7 separate regions of the Homo sapiens genome follow, and all the other regions are linked to region 3. The links are contacts of gene promoters, found by promoter capture Hi-C in blood cells and fetal thymus (Javierre and others, 2016). All regions are on one chromosome and are shown on one strand. Each heading gives the region's core, a stretch centred on a gene start or on the middle of the fragment in contact. The rest is flanking DNA. Distances are from core to core; before and after follow the strand shown. Region 1 overlaps PHKA1 (phosphorylase kinase regulatory subunit alpha 1). Region 2 holds the start of PHKA1-AS1 (PHKA1 antisense RNA 1). Region 3 holds the start of CITED1 (Cbp/p300 interacting transactivator with Glu/Asp rich carboxy-terminal domain 1). Region 4 overlaps PHKA1 (phosphorylase kinase regulatory subunit alpha 1). Region 5 has its middle 25 kb from the start of PHKA1. Region 6 overlaps PHKA1 (phosphorylase kinase regulatory subunit alpha 1). Region 7 holds the start of PHKA1 (phosphorylase kinase regulatory subunit alpha 1).

Region 1 (2,920 bases), core at 302-2,801, 330 kb after region 3:
ACTGACAGGACTACTACTTTTTTATTTTTTTGACTAGAACACATTTTTCTTGGGAATTTAATTTTTTTCATTTGCTTTACGTAAGTGTTATACTTATCAAATATGCCAGTTTTAGTGTTGCTTTACTCTTAGGGGGCTAGCATCAGAGAATTGTTAAAGCCTTGGTCATATTCCAGGGTCCATGCAGTAAAGCACACATTTTACCTGAGATTGATGTCACAACCAGGTTTTCCCACTACTCCTTACTTTTTGTTTCTATTTAATACTGCAAAATATACACAACATAAAATTTACCATTTACCATTTTAATAACCTTAAGTTCAGTGGCATTAAGTACATTTACATCATTGTGCAAACATCACCACCAACTATCTCCAAAACTCTTTCATCTTCCCAGACTGAAACTCTATTTATTGAACAGTAAGTAACTTTTCATGTCCTCTGCTTCCCAGCCTCTGGCAACCACTGTTCTACTTTGTATCTCTATGAATTCGGTATCTCATATAAATGGAATAATACAATATCTTTCCTTTTGTAACTAGCTTATTTCATTTAGCATAGTCTTCAAAGTTCATCTATGTGTAGCATATGTCAGAATCTCCTTCCTTTTTAAGGCTTAATAATATTCCATTTTGGGTATACATTTTGTGTATACATTGCATATTGTTTATCCATTCATTGATGGACATTTGGGTTGTTTCCACTTTTTGGCTATTGTGGGCAATGCTGCACATTGATGTAGAAAATGTTCAAGTTCCTATTTTTACTTCTTTTGGATATATACTCAGAAGTGTAATTGCTGGATTATATAGTAATTCTATGTTTAATTTGTTTGAGGGACTGCCATACTGTTTTCCATAGGGGCTGACACATTTTACATTCCCATCCACAGTACACAAGAGTTTTCATGTCTCCACATCCTCATGTTGGCTATTCAGGGTCCCTTGAGATTCCATATAAATTTTAGAACAATTTTTCTATTTTACAGAAATCATCATTTGGGCTCTTGATAGGGCTTGCATAGAATCTGTTGATAGCTTTGGGTTGTACTGGTATCTTAACAATATTATGTCTTCTAACCCACAAAGACAGCATGTCTTTCCATTTATTTGTCTCCTCTCTATTTCTTTTAGCAATGTTTTTCCATTTTCAGTGTACAAGTCTTTCACCTCTTTGGTTAAGCCTATTCTTAAGTATTTTATTCTTTTTGATGCTATTATAAATGGAACTGTTTTCTTAATTTCCTTGTCAAATTGTTCATTTTTAGTGTATAAAAATGTAACTGACTTTTGTGTGCTGATTCTGTATCCTATAAGTTTGCTGAATTTGTTTATTAGTTCTCACAGGTTTTTTTTGTTTTTGTTTTTGTTTTTTAAATAAAACCATGTCATGTGTGAATGGAGACCATTTTAATTTTTCTTTGCCAATTTGGATGTCTTTTATATCTTTTTCTTGTCTAACTGCTCTGGCTAGAACTTCCAATGATGGCCGACTGTGATGGTGTGTGCCTGTTGTCCCAGAGACTAAGGTGGGAGGATCCCTTGAGCGCAAGAGTTTGTGACCAGCCTGGGCAACACAGTGAGAGCTTCTCTCAAAAAAAAAAAAAAAAAAGCTATGTTGAATAGAAGTCTGGGTGTCTGTTTTATTTTTTTCTTTTGTCTTTTATTAATTTTATTAATTTACCAATTAATAACAAGTCATGGTTTTCTAAGTCATGTCTTCTTTTTTCAATGCTGAATACGGTGTATAAAGAATTGTAGAGGCTCTGGATGACATTATTTCCCTCCAGAGAAGATTCAGTTTATTTTAGTAGGCAGATACAGTATAAGCAGATCTTCTTAGCCCAATCAGGAATTAAGAAGATTGTGTTTTAGGATTTGTATTTGAGGCTTTCTAAGAACTCGTCTATTTATGGTTTTTCCTTACTCCTAAGGTGTAGTCCATTCTTTAGGGGTTTCAACTGAAAGCCCAAGGTGTTTATCACAGCCCCTTCCACATAGGAAGGTCCTGAAATGCAATTTTTGTCTCCGTAGAACAGTGAGACTTCCTGCTTAGTTTCTTGGCCCCTTACTTCATGCAAGCAAAACTTAAGAATCAGCAAATGCCTCAAAGGTAAACTGCACAGAGAATAGTGAGTTTATTCTTTGAGTGTCCCTTCTGTCCAAGGTTTTAGTTTCTCAAGTTCTGGCTGTTGTAATTACTCTCTGAAGCCTTCACTCACCTTCATTTTTAAAATTCAGCCATTCCAGTTATTGTTAGTATGACAGCCCAATACAAGCTATTTCATCACAGCTGGAAGCTGAAAGTCTACCTTTTTAGCTATGATACAATATACATAATTCTACCATTCTTGTTTATACACATTATAGTACTTCTAATTGTTGTTTTGCCACCACAGATTATAATGTAGTGAACATCCTTGAATATATGCCCTTGTGTACTTGTACGAATGTTATATAGGATAGATTCTGGGCTGGGTGCAGTGGTTCACGCCTGTAATTCCAGCACTTTGGGAAGGAGGCCAAGGTGGGCAGATCACAAGGTCAGGAGTTCGAGACCAGCCTGGCCAACATGGTGAAACCCCGTCTCTACTAAAAATACAAAAATTAGCCAGGCATGGTGGCAGGCACCTGTAATCCCAGCTACTTGGAAGGCTGAGGCAGGAGAATCAGCTGAACCTGGGAGGCGGTGGTTGCAGTGAGCCGAGATCGCGCCACTGCACTCCAGCCAGCCTGGGCAACAAGAGCAAGACTCCATCTTGGGGGGAGAAAAAGAAAAAGAAAAGGGTAGATTCCTAGAAGTAAGGTTGTTGGTCAAAGACATGTGCATTACATTTTTTTATAGGTAATGCCTACCTGCCTCTAATTTACACTACCAGGAGTGCTGAGAGTGTCCACATCTCCACATATTCATCAGCACT
Region 2 (2,700 bases), core at 111-2,610, 380 kb after region 3:
CTCCTCTGTGATGCTGTCATTGCTTCCCCTTTTCTGTGGTTCACACAAACATACTGTGTGTGTGTGTTTGTGTGTGTGTATTTGCTCAGCATTAAACTTTAAAAAAAACTTCTTTCTCTATTATTGATATTTTAACAAATATTAAGGAAATTAGTCCGTTGCACATCATATGTGTTGCAAGTATTTTTGCTAGTTTGTTGGAATTTGGACTTGTTTATAGTATTTTTTTATTATCAGAAACTTTTTTTTTTTTTTTGAGACAGAGTCTCGCTCTGTTGCCCAGGCTGGAGTGCTGTGGCATGATCCTGGCTTACTGCAACCTCTGCCTCCTAGGTTCATGTGATTCTCCTGTCTCAGCCTCCTGAGTAGCTGGGATTACAGGCACCCACCACCATGCCCGGCTAATTTTTTTGTATGTTTAGTAAAGAAGGGGTTTCACCATGTTGGCCAGGCTGGTCTTGAACTCCTGACCTTGTGATCCGCCCGCCTAAGCCTCCCAAAGTGCTGGGATTACAGGTTTGAGCCACTGCGCCTGGCCACATCTAAATCTTTGATCTATTAACATATATTTTAAATCATGGAACTGTGTAACTTTATAATTAAAAAGAACTATATGATTGGTATTATCAGATTGCAAACTCCTCCTGATCCATGGCTCTGTCAAAATAGCATCCATAGCACAGGGAAGCTGCAGAAGCAAAGTGGCAAAGTGTGTTTTTTCTTGCAATCGTAATGACACTAACTTCTTGGAAAGACGCCGGTAAAGAGAAGAGATGATAGTGACATGGGACATCAGCTTCATAGCTTTATCTTGTCATCTTTGTGTGACAATGCGATTGAGCAGAGACAGAGAAGGCAAAAGTATGAAACTGGTATTATTCATCTGTTAGACTTGCATCACAGCTATATCATACAAATGCCAGACATTTCTACCATTTATGTCCTTTTGCTTGTTATATTCTCCATTTAAATGGCCTTCTTCTCTCCAGATCTTGAAATCCTACTGTTCTTTCAAGGCTCAGCTCAAATGCTATGTCCTCTGTGATGCTATCATTGATTCTCCTATTTTGTGATTCACAGAATTTTGTTTTTCTTACTTTTATGAACTTATTTTTTTACTCTGTATTATAGACAAATGTGTACTTGAATTTTAAGGAAAGAACTACATCTTATTTATATCTGCATCTTCTAAAATTATCTCACATAGCCACTAAAAGTATCTCACGTAGTATTCTGAACGGTATTAAATAGCATTGAACAGTAGATGTTTGAAAATTTATTAAGTGATTTTAAACACCTCTGTTAACCACAGGAAAGGGATCAGCCTCTTGAGGAAAGGTCATAAATGGAGGACCTCTGGATCCTGTGCCTCCTGTAGAGCCCAGACACTGCTTGTCGAACAAAGAATGCAGAGGTGAGTACACATAAAATGAGATAGGGCTGGATTAGACCAAAGGTGACTATATAAAGAATACTAAGGCATACAGGGCTCCAGAAATGGAGCTAAATCAGTGGTCTATTGCACTTATATTCTGCACTCATCTGTATAACATTAAGCCTCTTTCTCTCATTTTTAGAAACAACCTTATTGAGATATGTAAAAAGCATGCATAAGAAGTATATATTCAACGGTTTTTAGTGTATGCACAGTTATGCGACCATCACCACAATCAATTTTAGAACACTGTCATCACTCCAAAAGAAACCTTGTGCCCCTTAGCAGTCACTCCCCACTTCCCTTCTACAGTTGCCCCCCAGCCTAAGTAATCACTAATCTACTTCTTGTCTCTATGATTTGCCTTAGTTGACATTCATATAAATGGAATCATACAATATGTGGCCTTTTATGTCTGGGTTCTTTCACTTAGCATAATATTTTCAAGGTTTGTCAGTGTTGTGGCATGTACCTGTAATTCATTTTTTATTGCCCAAAATATTCCATCTTGAGAGGTAGCAGTAACATGAAAAAAAATTTAAAAATTCCATTGTGCAGATGTATCATATTTTATTTATCCAATTATCAGTTGATAAACATTTGGGTTATTTTCATTTATGGCTATCATAAGTAATGCTGCTATAAACATTAATGTATAAGCTTTTGAGTGAACATATGTTTTCATTTCTCTTGGGTATATATATACTTAGGAGTGAAACTGCTAGATCATATGGTATCTCTTTTTTAAGCCTTTTAAGGAACTACCAGACTCTTTTCCAAGGCAGCCGCACCATTTTACATTTCCACCAGCAGTGTATGAGGGTTCCAATTTCTCCACATCCTCAGCAACACTTATTATCTGTCTTTTTGATTACAGTCATCCTGATGGGTGTGAAGTGGTATCTCATTGTGGTTTGGACCTATATTTCTTTCAAAATTAATGATGTTCACTATCCTTTCATGTACTTATTGGTTATCTGAACATCTTTTTGGAGGAATGTCAATTCTGATTCTTTGACCATTTTTAATTAGGTTATTTATCTTTTATATTAAGTTCTGCGAGTTCTTTTAGATACAGGTACCTTATCAGATATATGACTTGTGAATATTTTCTTCTATACTATTGGTTGCTTTTTTAGTTTCTTGATGGGGTCCTTTGAAGCACAAAAGTTCTTAATTTTGATACATTCCAGTTTATCTATTTTTTCTTCAGTAGCTTATGCTTTTCGTGCCATATCTAAGAGGCTTTTTCTTAACCCAAGGCC
Region 3 (2,883 bases), core at 117-2,616:
GGCCCTGTCCATCTTTTCCTGTTCCTATCCAGCCTTCCCTCTCCTTTTTGCCGCTTGGTACCCGAATGTACAAAACGAAGAAAAAACAACAGGAGCAGCAGCAACAACAGCAAAACCAAAAGAGAAACATTAGAAAAATCAAAAGAGAGAACGAGCAAAAAAACTCTCTCTATTCTGATATCAGTTCGTGGGGGAAGACCATTTTACCGCGCCTCCCTCTTCAATCTGGGAGCTCCCCCAGAAGAGGCCCTGTGTCCATTCAGATCTTCTGCCTTCCATTACTGACCCACCACCCACCCTGACCCCAGCCTGGGTCTGCGCTCAATAGGCGCTCAGTAAGTGTTGTTGAATGCGTCTGAAGAAGCAATCGCATTTCCATCGGCATCCCTGGCTCTGCTTCCCCGGCTTTCTGCCCTCCTCCACCACCCTCTAGCCCGTTCGTGGGCAAAACTTGGCAACGCGGAAACGTCCCAGCCCGCTCTCCAAGCCGCGAGCTGACCACTGCGAAACGGCTGCGACAGGCGGCTGGGAAACCTAGAGCAACAAGTGCCTTCTCGCCGGCTGATGCCTGGCGGCCCCCCGGCCACCAGTTCCCAGTCCCGCTGCCCGCTCTTCGCTTCAGGCCTTCCCTTGGGCGAGCAGCCCCCTCCCGCCTAGACAGGGGTGGGAAGGGGAGAGGGAAAAGAGAAGGGAGAGGCAGGTGGGGGCCTCATCTTTAACCTGTTGGGGGACCAAAAGTTAAAATGGCACCAACCGGATGGTTCCATCTCGATTGCTATTTTCTCACTCAGAAGGAGAAATTTAAAAATCCAAACAGCACTGCGGCTTGGCTTGGACGCGCTCTAACCAGACCAGTCAGTTTCGCCACCTGAAAACTAAAGGCCCGTTGTTTGCGGACAGCTCGGCTGCCCTCCTCGCCGCATCCCAGATGGAGCCGCGGAACCGGGGGCGGCCGGGAGCATCCCTTGCACGGCGGGCGCGTGCACCCAGGCCACCGGGGCCCTGAGCGTCCGTTCCCGCAAGTGCTGTATCAGGAACTGATCTTAGAGACAGGATGGACAGGCAGGAAGGGGCACGGGGTGTCGGCCTCCGCGGCGAGTCCGCACTCCGGCGCCGGCTGCTGCCACTCTCGCGCCTGATCAACACTTACTGAGCGCCCGCTGAGCATCCGACGCGGCAGCAGGCTGAGCCTACCCCCTAGCCAAGCCGCCTGCGGTCAGTGCTAAAACCCCGCTAGGAGAAGAGTGAGAGAGGCTCGGAGAGGTGCGGTAACTTGCCCAAGGTCACAGCGCTAGAAAGTGGCGGAGCCGGGATTCGCAGCCAGGTCTCTCTGACTCCAAGTCCGGTGCTCTGCGAAGCAGGGACTCGGCGCGCGGCTCGCCAGCCCGCGTTTATAGGGAGAGGGGTGTGCGCGTGGGTGTGTGTGTGTGGGCGTGTGTCGGGGGAGGGGAGGGCTGAGGTCGACTGGGCAGTAGAGGCAAGTTGCCCAAATTCGCTAACTTCCATCCCGCAATTCCGCTGAACTCGGCCCGAAAAGCCCCCTCTTGCCTCAATTCCCCGAAGTAAATCTGAGCTTTGTGCAGCTCCGGAGCCAGAGCGTCCAGATGCGGTCCGGGAGATTAGCAAAGTCGGTGGAAGCCAAGCTGGAGAAAGCGCGGGCGCAGGGAGAAAAGGTGCTGCCGTCTCCCCGGGAGAAGCGGGCACCCGGCCCCGCTGGCCGGCAGGGGGGCGCGCTGGCAAGCGAACCCGAGCGCTGGCGGGCGGGCGGGCGGGCGGCCCCTCGCCCCCAGCAGAGCAGCTTTCCAACAGAAAGCAAGTCTCCCCAGAACCCTCCGGCCCGCCTGGCGGCCGCCCACTCCCCATACCCGCTCCACGGGAGTCCTCGGCCCCGCCGCCCAGCCCGGCGCCCAGCCCGGCGGCCCGGCTTACCTCTGAGAAGCCGCCTGCCCTGGAGAGAGGGAAGCGCGGAGCTCGGTGAGCCGCAAGAGAGGCGGCGGAGCCCCCAGCCCCTGGCACGCACGCCGCCGCCACCGCTACCGCGAACCGGTCGCGCTCAGCGCCCGCGGCCGCGCCGTTGGCCACCCGACCCCGGGGCGCCTGGGAAAAGCCCGCACCGCGCCGCGCCGCCGCTGCACCGCACAGTGCCGCGCCAAGCAGCCCCTGACCGAGCTGGTGCCCGCCCGCCCGCCCGCAGCTTCGGCGCCGGACTCCGGGGCGGTGGCGGTGGCGGCCACCGCGCTCCCTTCCCGGCGCTGGGGACCCGGCTCTCAAGCCCCCATTGCCGCCCGGAGAGCCCTGACGCACACGCACACGGCAGCAGACTGGCCTCGGCTAGGAATCCCAGGAAGGACAGACCCTTTTTTTCCCTTTTTTTTTCTCCCCTCAATTTCCACGTCTTTATAACCGGCTTAGGGCATTATTAGCACATGTCCTGGCTCGTGGGCGAGTTGGTGGCAAAATCTGAACTGGATACTCACGGAGGGCCCGCGCGGGTGCTGTGCCGTCCGCTGCTCTCTTCCTCCTCACCGAGAACTGCCCCTCGCCGGCGGACTACAAGAGGGCAGCCGGGCAGAGCGAGCTTCCTCTCGGCAGCTCAGCGGTGCCCCTTCTGCAGCTTTGCCGCCGGGCACATTTTTATAGCAGCGGCTGGCGTCTGTGGCCCTTTAAAGGCGCTCGAGCTGGTGCAGTCACCGCGGATCGTGTGAAAGCAAAGGGCCGGCTGGGGAACGGAGTCCACGCGGCCACGCGAGTCCGGCAGCCCTGTGGACCGGCCAAGGCTCCCGGGGTGGGGCTGGCGAGTCCGGGCTATGGGCAGCCCTCGCCCGGAGCCCTGGCCAGTGCCCGGCTTCTAAAGCTGTCGGGGGCCAGGGCCCGGGACACCGG
Region 4 (2,814 bases), core at 315-2,814, 290 kb after region 3:
AAATTTACTCTAAAGCTATCAAAACTACAAAACTATCAAAACTGTGTCATATTGGTATAGGATGGACATATAGATCGATGGAATAGAACAGGGAGTTCAAAAATAAACCATTATATTTTGGTCAATTAATTTTCAACAAGGACGCCAAGATAATTAAATGAGGGAAAAATAGCCTTTTCAACAAATGGTGCTGGAACAGTGACATCCACATGCAAAAGAATGAAGTTGAACTCTACCTTATACCACACACAAAAATTAAGCCCATTGTGCAGAAAAGAGTTAAGACAGTAGGCCAGAACTGCTATTCTTGGAAAGGCTTGCTTACAAGGTTGGCCCTTGGCTGGCATTTAGAAACTTAGAAACTTGGATTCTGGGAGAGTTCTCACCATTCCCAGAACTAATAACAGTGGCTTACCATGCCTAAACTGTACAAACGCTATGGTTTATGTTGAACGTTTGCTTTCTTTCTGGGAGTCCAGAGTTTTGATACACGCCAGACAGAGGCTGTTTACGTGACCAGCCCTCAACAAGAACAATGGGTGCTGAGTCTTTATTAGGTTCCTTGGTTGGCAATGACATCTTGTCACAACTCATTGCAGGGTGACTCTACTGACAGAGTACTCTGGAAGCTTGTGTCTGTTTTCCCTAGACTTTGACCAATGACTCTTTTAAATTTTTTTTAACTTTTGTAGGTACATAGTAGGTTTATATATTTATGAGGTATATGAGACATTTTGTTACAGGCATACAATGCATAATAACCACATCAGGGTAAATGGGGTATCCATTATCTCAAGCAATTATCCTTCCTTTGTGTTACAAACAATCCAATTATACTTTTTATTATTTTAAAATGTACAATAAATTATTGTTGACTGTAGTTACACTGTGCCCAATGCATCTTGTACCCTTTAGGTGTAATAAACCGTAGCAGTGAGTATGACTATATGCTGAGATCTATGAGTCTTCCTAGTGAATCATTAAATCTGAGGGTGATCTTGGGGATCCCTCCATACATAATCATAGACCTAAATAAAACAGCTAACTCTATAAAACCCTTAGAACACAAATAGGAATAAATCTTTGTGACCTTGGGTTAGGCAAAGCCTTCTTAGATATGACACCAAAAACATCATGATTAACAAAAGAAAAAATAGACAAATTGGACTTTGTGGAAATCAAAAATTTTTGTTGTTTGAAGAATACTTAATGGTATTGAGTGAAAAGACAACCCACAGGATGGGAGAAATATTTGCAAATTTTATATCTTAAAAGGGACTTGTATCCAGAATATATAAAGAATCCTTGCAACTCAACAATAAAAAGACAAAAAAAATTAAAATAGGTACAAATGTGAATTGACATTTCTCTAAAGAAGATAAACAAATGGCCATTGGGCACATGAAAAGACACTCAGTATCATTAGCTATTAGGGCAATGCAAATCAAAACCACTACGAGATACCAGTTCACACCCATCAGGATGGCTATAATAAAAAAGACAATTGTAAGGGTTGGTGAAGATGTAAAGAAATTGGAACTCTCATACTCTGCTGGTGGGAATGTAAAATGGTGCAGCCCTTTTGGACATGTCTGGCAGTTCTTCAGAATGCGACACATAGTTACCATATGACCCAGGACTTCCACTCCTAGATATATATCCAAGAGAAGTGAAAACATATGTCCATACAAAAACTTGTGCATGAAGGTTCATTGTAGAATTATTCATAGCAGCCAAAAAGTGGAAACAATCCAGGTGTCCATCAACTGATGAATGGATAAATAAAATGTGGTACATTAATTTAGTAGGATATTATTCAGCAATGAAAAAAATAAACTTTTGATACATGCTAAAACATAATGAACTTTGAAAAACTTATACTAAGTAAAGGATAAAATACATTGGGCAAAGTGGTTAACAGTTTAAATTCAGAAATAAATATAAGATAGAAGATAATAGAAATATTTTCTGAGAAAATAACTTCTCACGTTTTAATTTGGGCCAAATGCCTAAATCACCAACCAATGCAATGTAAAAAAGAAAAGAGCCCCCAAACATTTCTACTGGCAAGTGACTATCGCACTGATCTATTGAGTAGATGAACTGCCATTTAATTATCTTCATTGTCTTGTTTATACCACCAAGATCCTAGGCTGTTGATTGTGAGGTCAAACCAGAAAGGGTATAGATCTGATAAAGTACAATTCAGACTGTTTTCCAAAGCCAAATATCAATCATTTTGAGTTTTTAAATTTTCTTCTATACCCCTGTCCTATGTTAGTGTGGATATGATAGAGTTGGCCAAGTCTTATTAGTTCATTACAGGGTATTTGATTTAGGTTAACCTAAATACTAATATTGTTTCGAATAATTTTCCATTTTTTGTTTGGTAATTGTCTAGCCTAAATCTCTTCAGCTTGAGAAATCTGAAATCATAGGCCATTATGAGTCTTTGATTTAAACCAAATAAATTTAATTAGAGGTCAGTCCTCCTAAATTGTAAGCTTCACGAGGGCAAAGACCACATCCATTTTGTTCACAGTGCCTGGCACAAAACTGGCACTCAATTAATATTTACTAAATGAATTCATAATCAGAAGAAAAGCTAACCCAGTGGCTTTCAAACTTAAAAATGCATCAGAATCATCTAAATAAAACAGATTACTGGGCCTCATCCGCAGTCTTTCTGACTCTGTGTACTTAGGGTGGGACCAAGAATTTATACTTAACCAATACTTAGCAAATTGAATTTTGTTTTCTGAAATCGCAAAGAGGTTGGAGTTGAACTCCCTTCCCTATGTTATTGGAAAATAA
Region 5 (3,039 bases), core at 379-2,878, 430 kb after region 3:
CTAGCTTGGTGTGATCCTTCCAGATGTTTTTCTATGAATTTATATATGTATACGCAAACCTAGAAAAAATAATAATAGCAATGGGGTGAGTTTTTATATCTCATACATGAACTTCAAGACAACTCAGGTGTTGCCTCCTACCAACCTGCTCCTAAAATTCCTCTCACTCACAACACCTAGTGCACTGTATTGTAGTTGTCTAATTACTTCTCTGTCTCCCTTACTAGACTGTGGGCTCCTTGAGGGCAGGAACCATGGTTTTTCCATCTCTATATCTCCAGGAATGGCTCATAGTGGCATATCATACACGTTGAATGGATACATTTATGAATAAATGACTCCTTGCCTGGAAGAAGGGTAATTCCACTTCCTTGATATTGTGGTCCTCTATTTTAGAGCTGTGTCTTACTCTAAGCAAGCTCAATATATAAGATATATTAAAACTCAGCTTTACTCAAAAGATGTAATTGTTTGCTTTGAAACTGTAAAGTAGTTAATTTACAAAATTCTTCACGGGAGGATTCTTTTTTTCTAAATAGCAATGGCCTTTAGTGCAGAAGAACAGAAGGTTGCCATAATAAGACCAAACCATCCTCCCTTCATCCCAAGATTGGTGCTTGGCAGAGGCATGAATGTTAGCATGTCTGAAGGTAAGTTTGTCTGCCTGATGTCATCCTCAAAATGCTAGAAATGCAGGCAACCCCTACCTCAACATCCCAGTTTCTGGTAATAACATGTTATGAAGAAGGGGAAGGTAACTAAAATTTACTTAGATTCTATTATGTACTAGATATGTTCCACATGTTAGTCTTATTTAATCCTGAAAAATAACTCTTGGAGGAAGACAATGCTGTTGCTATCTTATCAATGAGGTTGCTAAGCTCAGAGTGGTACATTGCCTATGATCACACAGAACCAAATAAAGGCAAACTATAGACTTAATATTAAGTGTGTTTGTCCCAGTCAATTCCTATATTTCAGACTCACTATTCAAACAGTGTTGTCAAGCTTGAGGTATGACCTAAAGCAGCACAGTGTTGAGAGTCCTGTTCTAGACATAGATTGGTCAGTAAGATAGGAACATAAATGTAGGCCGAAGATTTTCACCGGGATGGGTGGATTGGAAGGAAGTTATTGGTGAGAAATATTCAGTATGCTGGCAGAGTGGGAAAGAAAGGTTGTGAGGGTAAAGTTGTAACCCAAGAAGCAGAGGTGGGAGACAGGAAATGTAGCAGCCGCCTCAGAGGCAGCTGTCATGATGGTACTTAAAGAAGATTGCTGCCAAGTGTTATTTATGAATTGTGGCTTAGGGTTTCCCAGTGCCGTCCTGGGTTTTGTGATGTTCTAAAAGACAGCAGTAAGGGAGGTGCGGGGCATGGATTGTTCCTCCTGTAGTCCTGGATTTTTTTTTCTGTTTCCCTTTTGGAAGATTTTTAATTTCTAAAAAATTTTGTAGAGACAGCGTTTTGCTATGTTGTCCAGGCTGGTCTCAAACCCCTGGCCTCAAGTGATCCTCCCGCCTCAGCATCCCAAGTACATGGGATTACAGGCATGAACTACTGCATCAGGCCTTGGAAAATGTTATTGTAGTAAAATATATGTAGCATAGAATTTGCAATCTTAACCCTTTTTAAGTGTACAATTCAGTGGCATTAATTACATTGGCAACATTGTGACACCATCACCACTACTTCCAAACGTTAAATGGAAACTCTGTACCCATTGGTCAATAACCCTCCATTCCCTCCTCCCTTTAGCCCCTGATAACCTCTAATCTACTTGATGTCTCTATGAATTTTCCTATTCTAGGTATTTCATATAAGTGGAACCATACAATATTTTTCCTTTTGTGTCTGGCTTATTTCACTTAGTAAGTTTTTCAGGTTCATCCATGTTGTAGCACATATCAGAACTTCATTTCTTTCCACAGCTGAATAATATTCCATTGCATACACATGCTGTATTTCATTTGTCCATTAAACTGCTGATGGACCCTTTGGTTGTTTCCAACTCTTGGCTATAGTGCATACTGTTGCAATGAACATTAGCATGAAACTGACTGTCTCAGATTCTATTTTCAATTATTTTGGGTATATTTCCCTAGGAGTGGAATTGCTAGGTCATAAGGCATCCTATGTTTAACTCTTAAAATTTATTTCTAATTGATATAATAGCCATGTATGTTTATGTGGTACAATATAACGTTTTGATCTTTGTATACATTATGAAAAGAGCTCTTTGAGGGACCGCAAGCTTTTCCACAGAGGTGCACCATTTTACATTCCCATCTGCAATGTGCAAGAATTTCAACTTCTTTACATCCTTACCAATGCTTCTTATTTGCTTCAAGAAAAGTTTTTTTTTTAATTATAGATGTGTATGTAAAGTGTTAATGGTGGTATCTCATTGTAGTTTCCATTTGCATTTCTCTGATGACTAATGATATTGAGCATCATCTCATGGGCTTAGTGGGAGAAATGTCTCTTAAGTCATTTGCTCATTTAAAAAATTAATTAGGTTGCTTTTCTTTTTTGTGTTGAGCTATAGGAATTCTTTACATATTCTGAATAGTAAACCATTGTCAGATACGTAATTTGCAACTATTTTCTATCATTCTATAGAATGTTTTCTTTTTTTACTTTATACTGTTCTTTATGCATGAGCATTTTCAATTTTGATGAAATCTAATTGATCTATCATTTTTCTTTTGTTGCTCATGATTTTGGTGTCATATCTAAGAATCCATTGCCTAATCCAAGGGTATAAAAGTTTACCGCTGTGTTTTCTTTAAAGAGTTTTTTGTTATTAGCATTTGTATTTAAGTCATTGACTGATTTTGGGTAATTTTTTTGTATACAGGATGAAGTAGAGGCCCAAATTCATTCTTTTCAATGTAATTCTGGCTTCGTAGAATGATTCAAGAAGTATGTGATCCTGTTTACATACTTCTATATAATTCCATATGGTTTCATATAGGGATTCATTAGTGAAACCATCTATGATTGAGGTTTTCTTTCTTTCTTAAGAAAGTGTTTAATT
Region 6 (2,829 bases), core at 112-2,611, 350 kb after region 3:
CTTTAGCTCAGAGGTATTATAATACGGGTTTTCATTACTGATTGTTTTAGAGAAGGTGTTCAGGAAGCAGAGCATGTACATACTCCCTTCCCTTAGCAAGTACTCTATGATGCGACTTCTAACTAGCGGAATTGGGATAGCAATGATATCACAAGAGGGTGTATGAAGAAATAAGATTGGTTTGCAATAAAGTTCAGTTTGGTTTTATATTTGTTAAGTTTTTTGTAATAATAGGACATACAAGTAGAAATGTTTAGAAGGGCAACTAGAGATGAGGGTTTGGGAATCATTTTCCTAGAGGTGACATATGAAGTACAAGTTACAGATGAGCTTTGTGAAATAGCACTAAATGAAATGAGCAAACTGCTCAAGAATGGAATCTTGGTAAACCCTCAGAGTGGGGCAAGGGAATAACAGAAAGAGAAGAATCAGGATAATCTAGTGGGAAAATTAAAATAGGAAAAGAATTTCAAGAGAATTTAGGGCTAGGTAAAAAGTGAGGTACCATAGAGAAGTCAAGGAGAATAAGGATTCAGAAAAGGCTATTGGATTGGTCATTTAAGAGCTTATGATGATGTTTCAGAACATATAATTTTAGTACACTGATAGGGGAAGAAGTCAAATTCAAGGCTAAAAAATAAAGTGGAAGAGGAAGTAGACCAGAAGAGTTTGAGCTCGATGATTTAAAAAAATCCATAATGTCTCTCAAACATCAAATCTAAGCTTTAAACAATGTTTCCATTACCAGTGAAAGTGCTTCATATTGACTGTTCAATCCCTTTAATGATACTGAATTTTTCTCATTGATATTTCCAAGGTGAACTTTTGACTAGTTGAATAAAGGGAACGTAAACTTTTCAAAATCAAGTACTGTTTAGAACTAACCAACTACAAGAGGTGGAATGTGGGGCCAGAAAGATCTACTGATGGAAAGATTTTTCCCTTTGTAATTGTTAAATATTTTGGGAGAGATACTTTGAGACAATGCAAATACTATTTCTGTATAAGCTTTCATCCACTGATTTTACCATGTATCTGTAGTTCTTTCCCGAAACTAACCAATGCAAGAGGTGGAAGGACTACACCTTCCTCTATTTTACTTAATCCAGAAAGGCCTACAAACTGAGAACTTGGCAGCTAAGCCAAGTTCAACAAATATAGCAAACATCAGTTATCATTATCCTACTTAGTGATCTCTATAAGTACCATCAGTGAGGTAAATATTTTCTCTGAATGAGGCTGCAGGTAGAAGTGGCCATTCTACCTTGGATTCATTTTGGAGAAAAGAAACCTACCTCTTTAGGAGTTTTATATCCATCTCGTAGAAAGCGACAGCAACCATAACGACCCTGGGAATACAAAGAAAAAAGGTCAGCAGCTTGTACACTGGTACGGCCATGTAATTAATCAGAAATACATCCTTGCAACATCTATATGTACCACCAACCTATCACCGATAAAGGCATAATGCTTAAAACCAAAAAACCTATAATAATATAATAATGCTTAAAACCAAAAAATCAATCCAGCAGCAGAAACAGATTTCAGCAATGTGATTTCAAGTGAAGGCAAAGTGACAGGCTCTTCACTAAAGCAGTGTTCCTAACAGTATCCTCTCCATGGCTATCCACCTAGGGTAAGTCTGACAGCATAATTACTAATCTATGTGGTCCTGTTCATAAGACACATACAGCTCATAAGTCATAAGACTCCATAAGCTTTTTAAAAAAACACATATTTTTTACATTTTGAGATAATTTTAGATTTACAGAAGAGTTGCAAAAACAGTACAGAGAATCCCAGTATTCCTGTCAACCACCATTCCGTTATAGTCACATCTTATATAACCATAGAAATCTGCCAAAACTAAAAAATTAACCTTGGTGGCTGGGTGTAGTGGCTCATGCCTGTAACCCCAGCACTTTGGGAGGCTGAGGCGGGAGGCACCTGAGGTCAGGAGTTCGAGACCAGCCTGGCCAATGTGGTGAAACCTTGTCTTTACAAAAAAATACAAAAATTAGCCAGGCGTGGTGGCACGTGACCGTAGTCCCAGTTATTCAAGAGGCTGAGGTGGGAGAATCGCTTGAACCTGGGAGACACAGGTTGCAGTGAGCCGAGATCCTGCCACTGCACTCCAGCCTGGGTGACAAAGTGAGACTTTGTTTCAAAAAAAAAAAAAAAAAAAACTTTGGTACGATACTATTAACCAAAGCCCATAACTTATTTGGATTTCATCAGTTGTCCTTTTTTCTGTTCTAGGACCCAATTCAGGATCCCATATTGCATTCAGTCATCATGTCTCCTTAGTGTCCTCCAATCTATGACAGTTCCTCAGTCCTTCCTTGTTTTTAATGACCTTGACACTTCTGAAGAGTGTTCATCAGTTATTTTGTAGAATGCCCCTCGATTTGGTTTTGTTTGATGTTTTCTCATGATCAGAGTACGGTTATGCATATTGGGAAGGATACCACAGAAGTGATGTGCCCTTCTCAGTGCATTGTATGAGAGAGTACATGATGTCAATGTGTCCTATTACTGGTGATGTTAACCCTGATCACTTGGTTAAAGTGGTGTCTGCTGAATTTCTCCACTGTAATTTTCCATTTGTAACTATTAAATATTTTGGGGGAGATACTGTGAGACTATTCGAACACCTTCGTTATGCTTAAGCTTTTGTCTACTGGTTTTAGCATCCATCAGTAGATTTCTCCTGAAATAATTGTTATTCTTGTGTTTGTCTAATGGCAATTTTGTATTTCCTTTATTCCTTTAGCATTTATTAATTGACATTCTCCTATTAGGGAGATCTGTCTTCTTTCCTATTTATTC
Region 7 (2,988 bases), core at 160-2,659, 410 kb after region 3:
AAAAGGCTGGGCGCGGTGGCTCACGCCTGTAATCCTAGCGCTTTGGGAGGCCGAGGCGGGCAGATCACAAGGTCAGGAGATTGAGACCATCCTGGCTAACATGGTGAAACCCCGTCTCTACTAAAAATACAAAAAATTAGCCAGGCGTGGTGGCACGCGCATGTAGTCCCAGCTACTCGGGAGGCTGAGGCAGGAGAATCGCTTGAACACAGGAGGTGGAGGTTGCAGTGAGCTGAGATCGTGCCACTGCACTCCAGCCTGGGGACAGAGTGAGACTCCGTCTCAACAACAACAAAAAAAGTCATAAAAATAATGATCTGTACTACCTGGTGTGGAGCAAAAACTTGAATAATTTTTTTTTTTTTGGTGGACCTATGTATCTCTCAATAATGGCTTGAAAGAACAACAAATGCCTGCTGTTGCTAAGGACAACACAGTGCAACCCCACATTATATTGATACTCGTAAAATAACCAAATATCAATATTCTGATTTATAGATGAAGACTGGAGCTCAGATTGCCTAAGTCTTGGAGAGACCACTGGAGAAAATGGCTGGTATAGAGAGAATTTTTCCCACTAATGGAAATGAATGCACATGCATCTTATAACTGACAACAGAGTACTTCAACTCCCACCATAGCCCAGAATATTGTTTTCTTAATATTATTTTCTTGGTCGTTGAAGAGGATGCAGCTACCTTTGCGTCTCAACAGTTCTATAAAGGATGCTGGTTTACTGAGGGGAAGTGCCTTAAAAGTTGGCTTAAAGGCATCTGCTGACTCTGACCTCATTTTGCCCAGGAGTTGGGGGAGGGAGGAAGCAACAGGCTCTGAAACAGTGGCCACAGCTATAAAAATCAACAGATAAAGTCTTTACTGTGTCTAGTCCAGAAGGTTTGCTGATTCATGTCATTTACCCTCATACAAACACCACAATTTTTAAAAATGAAATAAAATAGTAGATACCTGCTCCCAAACATTTTCTCAATGAGAATAAATACAGTGGTGACTACAAGATAGATTAACTTAGAGAGTCATGCATTTTAGGAAAGATCCCAGGATAGGATTTTCCACTGTAACAGAACAGACTGTTCCCTCTCCCTCAAATCAGCAAGTTTCAAGTTTCCACTGCAAGAATACCACTTCAGTACAATACAGGAAAGCTTTCTGGAATATAATTTCAGAAAGATGATGAAAGAGGGAAAGGCAAAATACAGTTCTCTTAGCTTTTGGTGGGTTTCACTTCCTTCAGTCCCCACTCTGCCCCCAACCCCCAATCACACATAGCTCCAGATCTCTTTGTATTTTTATTTTGAGTACCTGCTCCAATTCATAGGCCTTTGCCTTATCCTCATCCCGGTCTGCATTCTTCCGATAGGCCAGGCCCAAACCCCACACAGCCAAGATGCTGTACACATTATCTCGGACCCAAGCATCTTTCTGATCATAGCTGGCTGGAAGCAAGCCAGTCACTGGATTCTGCAAGGTCAAGAAAAAGAGGGCAGGAAGGTAACCATAGGTGTTAACATCAGGAAACAGAATCTTCCAAATGGGTTTTTTAGGGACTTTGGTCTTTCTTCTACTTCTCCACTCTTGAGTTTTATAACCTCCTCTTCTTCTGACCTATTGCAGGCAAATGCTATCTTCCCACCTTCCCAAGCTTTACTGAGCTATATTCAACACATTAAAAATTGTGTATATTTAGGGAGTACAACATGATGATTTATGTATTCATTGGAAAATTACCAAAATGACGTTTATTAACACATCTATTACCTCACAGCTACCTTTTTTTTTGGTGTGGTGAGAATACTTAAGATCTACTCTCTTAGTAAATTTCAAGTATACAGTACAGTATGATTAACTACAGTCACCATGCTGCTGTACATCAGATCCCCAGAACTTACTCATCTTATAACTGAAACTTTGTGCCCTTTGCAAATACTATCTTGAATAAGGGGTAAGCGGTGGCTGAAGCCTTTCGAGTCTGAAATGTGGGTATTATTAAAGGCACAATTAAAGGTATTATTAAGTGCATTTATAATGGGTATTATTAAAAGAAAGTTTTACCTTTCTAGTTAGAATGAACTAGCGAACTAGCAATGAAAAACCAGCAGAAAAAATATATAATTAACAGGGGCGGGAGAACCTGCTACAGACAGATACAGATACACACACAAACACACACGCGGAGTTCATGCAAGGTCTCCGTCACACACACACACACACACACACACACACACCCACACACGCACGCACGCACGGAGTTCATCCAAGGTCTCCGTCCAAGCTATGACAAGCTACATCCTCGCTCGGTGATTACGAGAGACACCCCTGCAGTTACCTGATGGCACAGGATGGTCTGTTGCACCAGTCGAGCGTAGCCGTCCAGCCGGACCCCGGAGTTACTCCGGCTCCTCATGGCGACACGTTACTAATTGTCCTCTGAGAAATAGCCCGGGTGCCACCGGAGCCTTCGGTCCCTAAGGAACAAGTATCCAACGCTGCTCCACCCTCGTGGTGGGACGCCTGAACACCAGGCCCCGCAGAGCCCTCCCACCGCTCAGGCCTGGCGCCGCGGATTCCGCGTACCTCTCCGGACTCCGGCGGCCTCAGGGGCCCACCACGCGCCAGCGCTAGCACTGGCTTCCCGCGGTCTAGAGCCCCGCCGCAGCGCCCCAGGCGCCGCTCCTGCCCCCTTAGTCCAGTCCGGCCTCCGCGTGTGACTCCTGCATCCTCCCCTCAACCCCGGGAGACCGCCGCGGCCCACAGCCTCCCGCCCGGCCGCCGCCAACAGGTCAACGACCGCTGCGCCGCCTCCACCTTGCGGGAGACGCGAGCGGGAGGCGGGGCGGGCGCGACTGGTTCTGGCAGCTGCGCGCTGCGACCCCGGGGCTCGCCCGCCCCGGGGCCGAGAATGTGTCACCGTAGGCAATGTGCTTTCCGAGGTTTATTTTCGAAACACCTCAGATCACTATTTCAGTTTTC

What was found. The method cuts DNA at HindIII sites, captures the fragments that hold promoters and counts their contacts. A CHiCAGO score of 5 or more calls a contact.
Region 1: a contact is called between a fragment that was not itself captured here and the fragment with the promoter of CITED1 in region 3, in 2 of 17 cell types (M2 macrophages and fetal thymus). The highest score is 8.3, in M2 macrophages.
Region 2: the fragment with the promoter of PHKA1-AS1 here is called in contact with the fragment with the promoter of CITED1 in region 3 in 3 of 17 cell types (M0 macrophages, M2 macrophages and M1 macrophages); the score reaches 8.1 in M0 macrophages.
Region 4: a contact is called between a fragment that was not itself captured here and the fragment with the promoter of CITED1 in region 3, in 1 of 17 cell types (monocytes). The highest score is 5.1, in monocytes.
Region 5: a contact is called between a fragment that was not itself captured here and the fragment with the promoter of CITED1 in region 3, in 5 of 17 cell types (M2 macrophages, M0 macrophages, endothelial precursors and 2 more). The highest score is 7.9, in M2 macrophages.
Region 6: a fragment that was not itself captured here is called in contact with the fragment with the promoter of CITED1 in region 3 in 1 of 17 cell types (M1 macrophages); the score reaches 5.2 in M1 macrophages.
Region 7: a fragment that was not itself captured here is called in contact with the fragment with the promoter of CITED1 in region 3 in 1 of 17 cell types (megakaryocytes); the score reaches 5.3 in megakaryocytes.

What each region holds. Positions count from the first base shown.
Region 1 is chrX:72,636,781-72,639,700 of GRCh38, forward strand. All of the region lies in intron 14 of PHKA1 (phosphorylase kinase regulatory subunit alpha 1), which reads right to left. Among named protein-coding and RNA genes, the nearest start is that of PHKA1-AS1, 51 kb to the right of the region's middle. The HindIII fragment of the contact is 5,199 bases long and covers 1-2,920 here.
Region 2 is chrX:72,687,589-72,690,288 of GRCh38, forward strand. PHKA1-AS1 (PHKA1 antisense RNA 1) reads left to right here and starts at 1,361. Exons shown (of 5, transcript NR_110391.1): 1 at 1,361-1,414. All of the region lies in intron 4 of PHKA1 (phosphorylase kinase regulatory subunit alpha 1), which reads right to left. The HindIII fragment of the contact is 3,854 bases long and covers 1-2,093 here.
Region 3 is chrX:72,304,548-72,307,430 of GRCh38, forward strand. CITED1 (Cbp/p300 interacting transactivator with Glu/Asp rich carboxy-terminal domain 1) reads right to left here and starts at 1,367. Exons shown (of 3, transcript NM_001144887.2): 1 at 1,278-1,367. LOC105373250 (a long non-coding RNA gene) reads left to right here and starts at 1,555. Exons shown (of 3, transcript XR_938441.2): 1 at 1,555-1,673. RefSeq lists a silencer at 2,352-2,646 and an enhancer at 2,373-2,422. The HindIII fragment of the contact is 8,247 bases long and covers 1-2,883 here.
Region 4 is chrX:72,596,848-72,599,661 of GRCh38, forward strand. The region is part of intron 28 of PHKA1 (phosphorylase kinase regulatory subunit alpha 1); the gene reads right to left. Among named protein-coding and RNA genes, the nearest start is that of HDAC8, 25 kb to the left of the region's middle. The HindIII fragment of the contact is 1,875 bases long and covers 628-2,502 here.
Region 5 is chrX:72,737,307-72,740,345 of GRCh38, forward strand. No RefSeq gene overlaps it. Among named protein-coding and RNA genes, the nearest start is that of PHKA1, 25 kb to the left of the region's middle. The HindIII fragment of the contact is 1,245 bases long and covers 1,007-2,251 here.
Region 6 is chrX:72,656,293-72,659,121 of GRCh38, forward strand. PHKA1 (phosphorylase kinase regulatory subunit alpha 1) reads right to left here. Exons shown (of 32, transcript NM_002637.4): 9 at 1,296-1,349. Among named protein-coding and RNA genes, the nearest start is that of PHKA1-AS1, 31 kb to the right of the region's middle. The HindIII fragment of the contact is 710 bases long and covers 1,007-1,716 here.
Region 7 is chrX:72,711,459-72,714,446 of GRCh38, forward strand. PHKA1 (phosphorylase kinase regulatory subunit alpha 1) reads right to left here and starts at 2,848. Exons shown (of 32, transcript NM_002637.4): 1 at 2,345-2,848; 2 at 1,321-1,479. The coding sequence starts at 2,422. PHKA1-AS1 (PHKA1 antisense RNA 1) reads left to right here. Exons shown (of 5, transcript NR_110391.1): 5 at 499-890. RefSeq lists an enhancer at 2,152-2,988 and a silencer at 2,829-2,978. The HindIII fragment of the contact is 497 bases long and covers 1,162-1,658 here.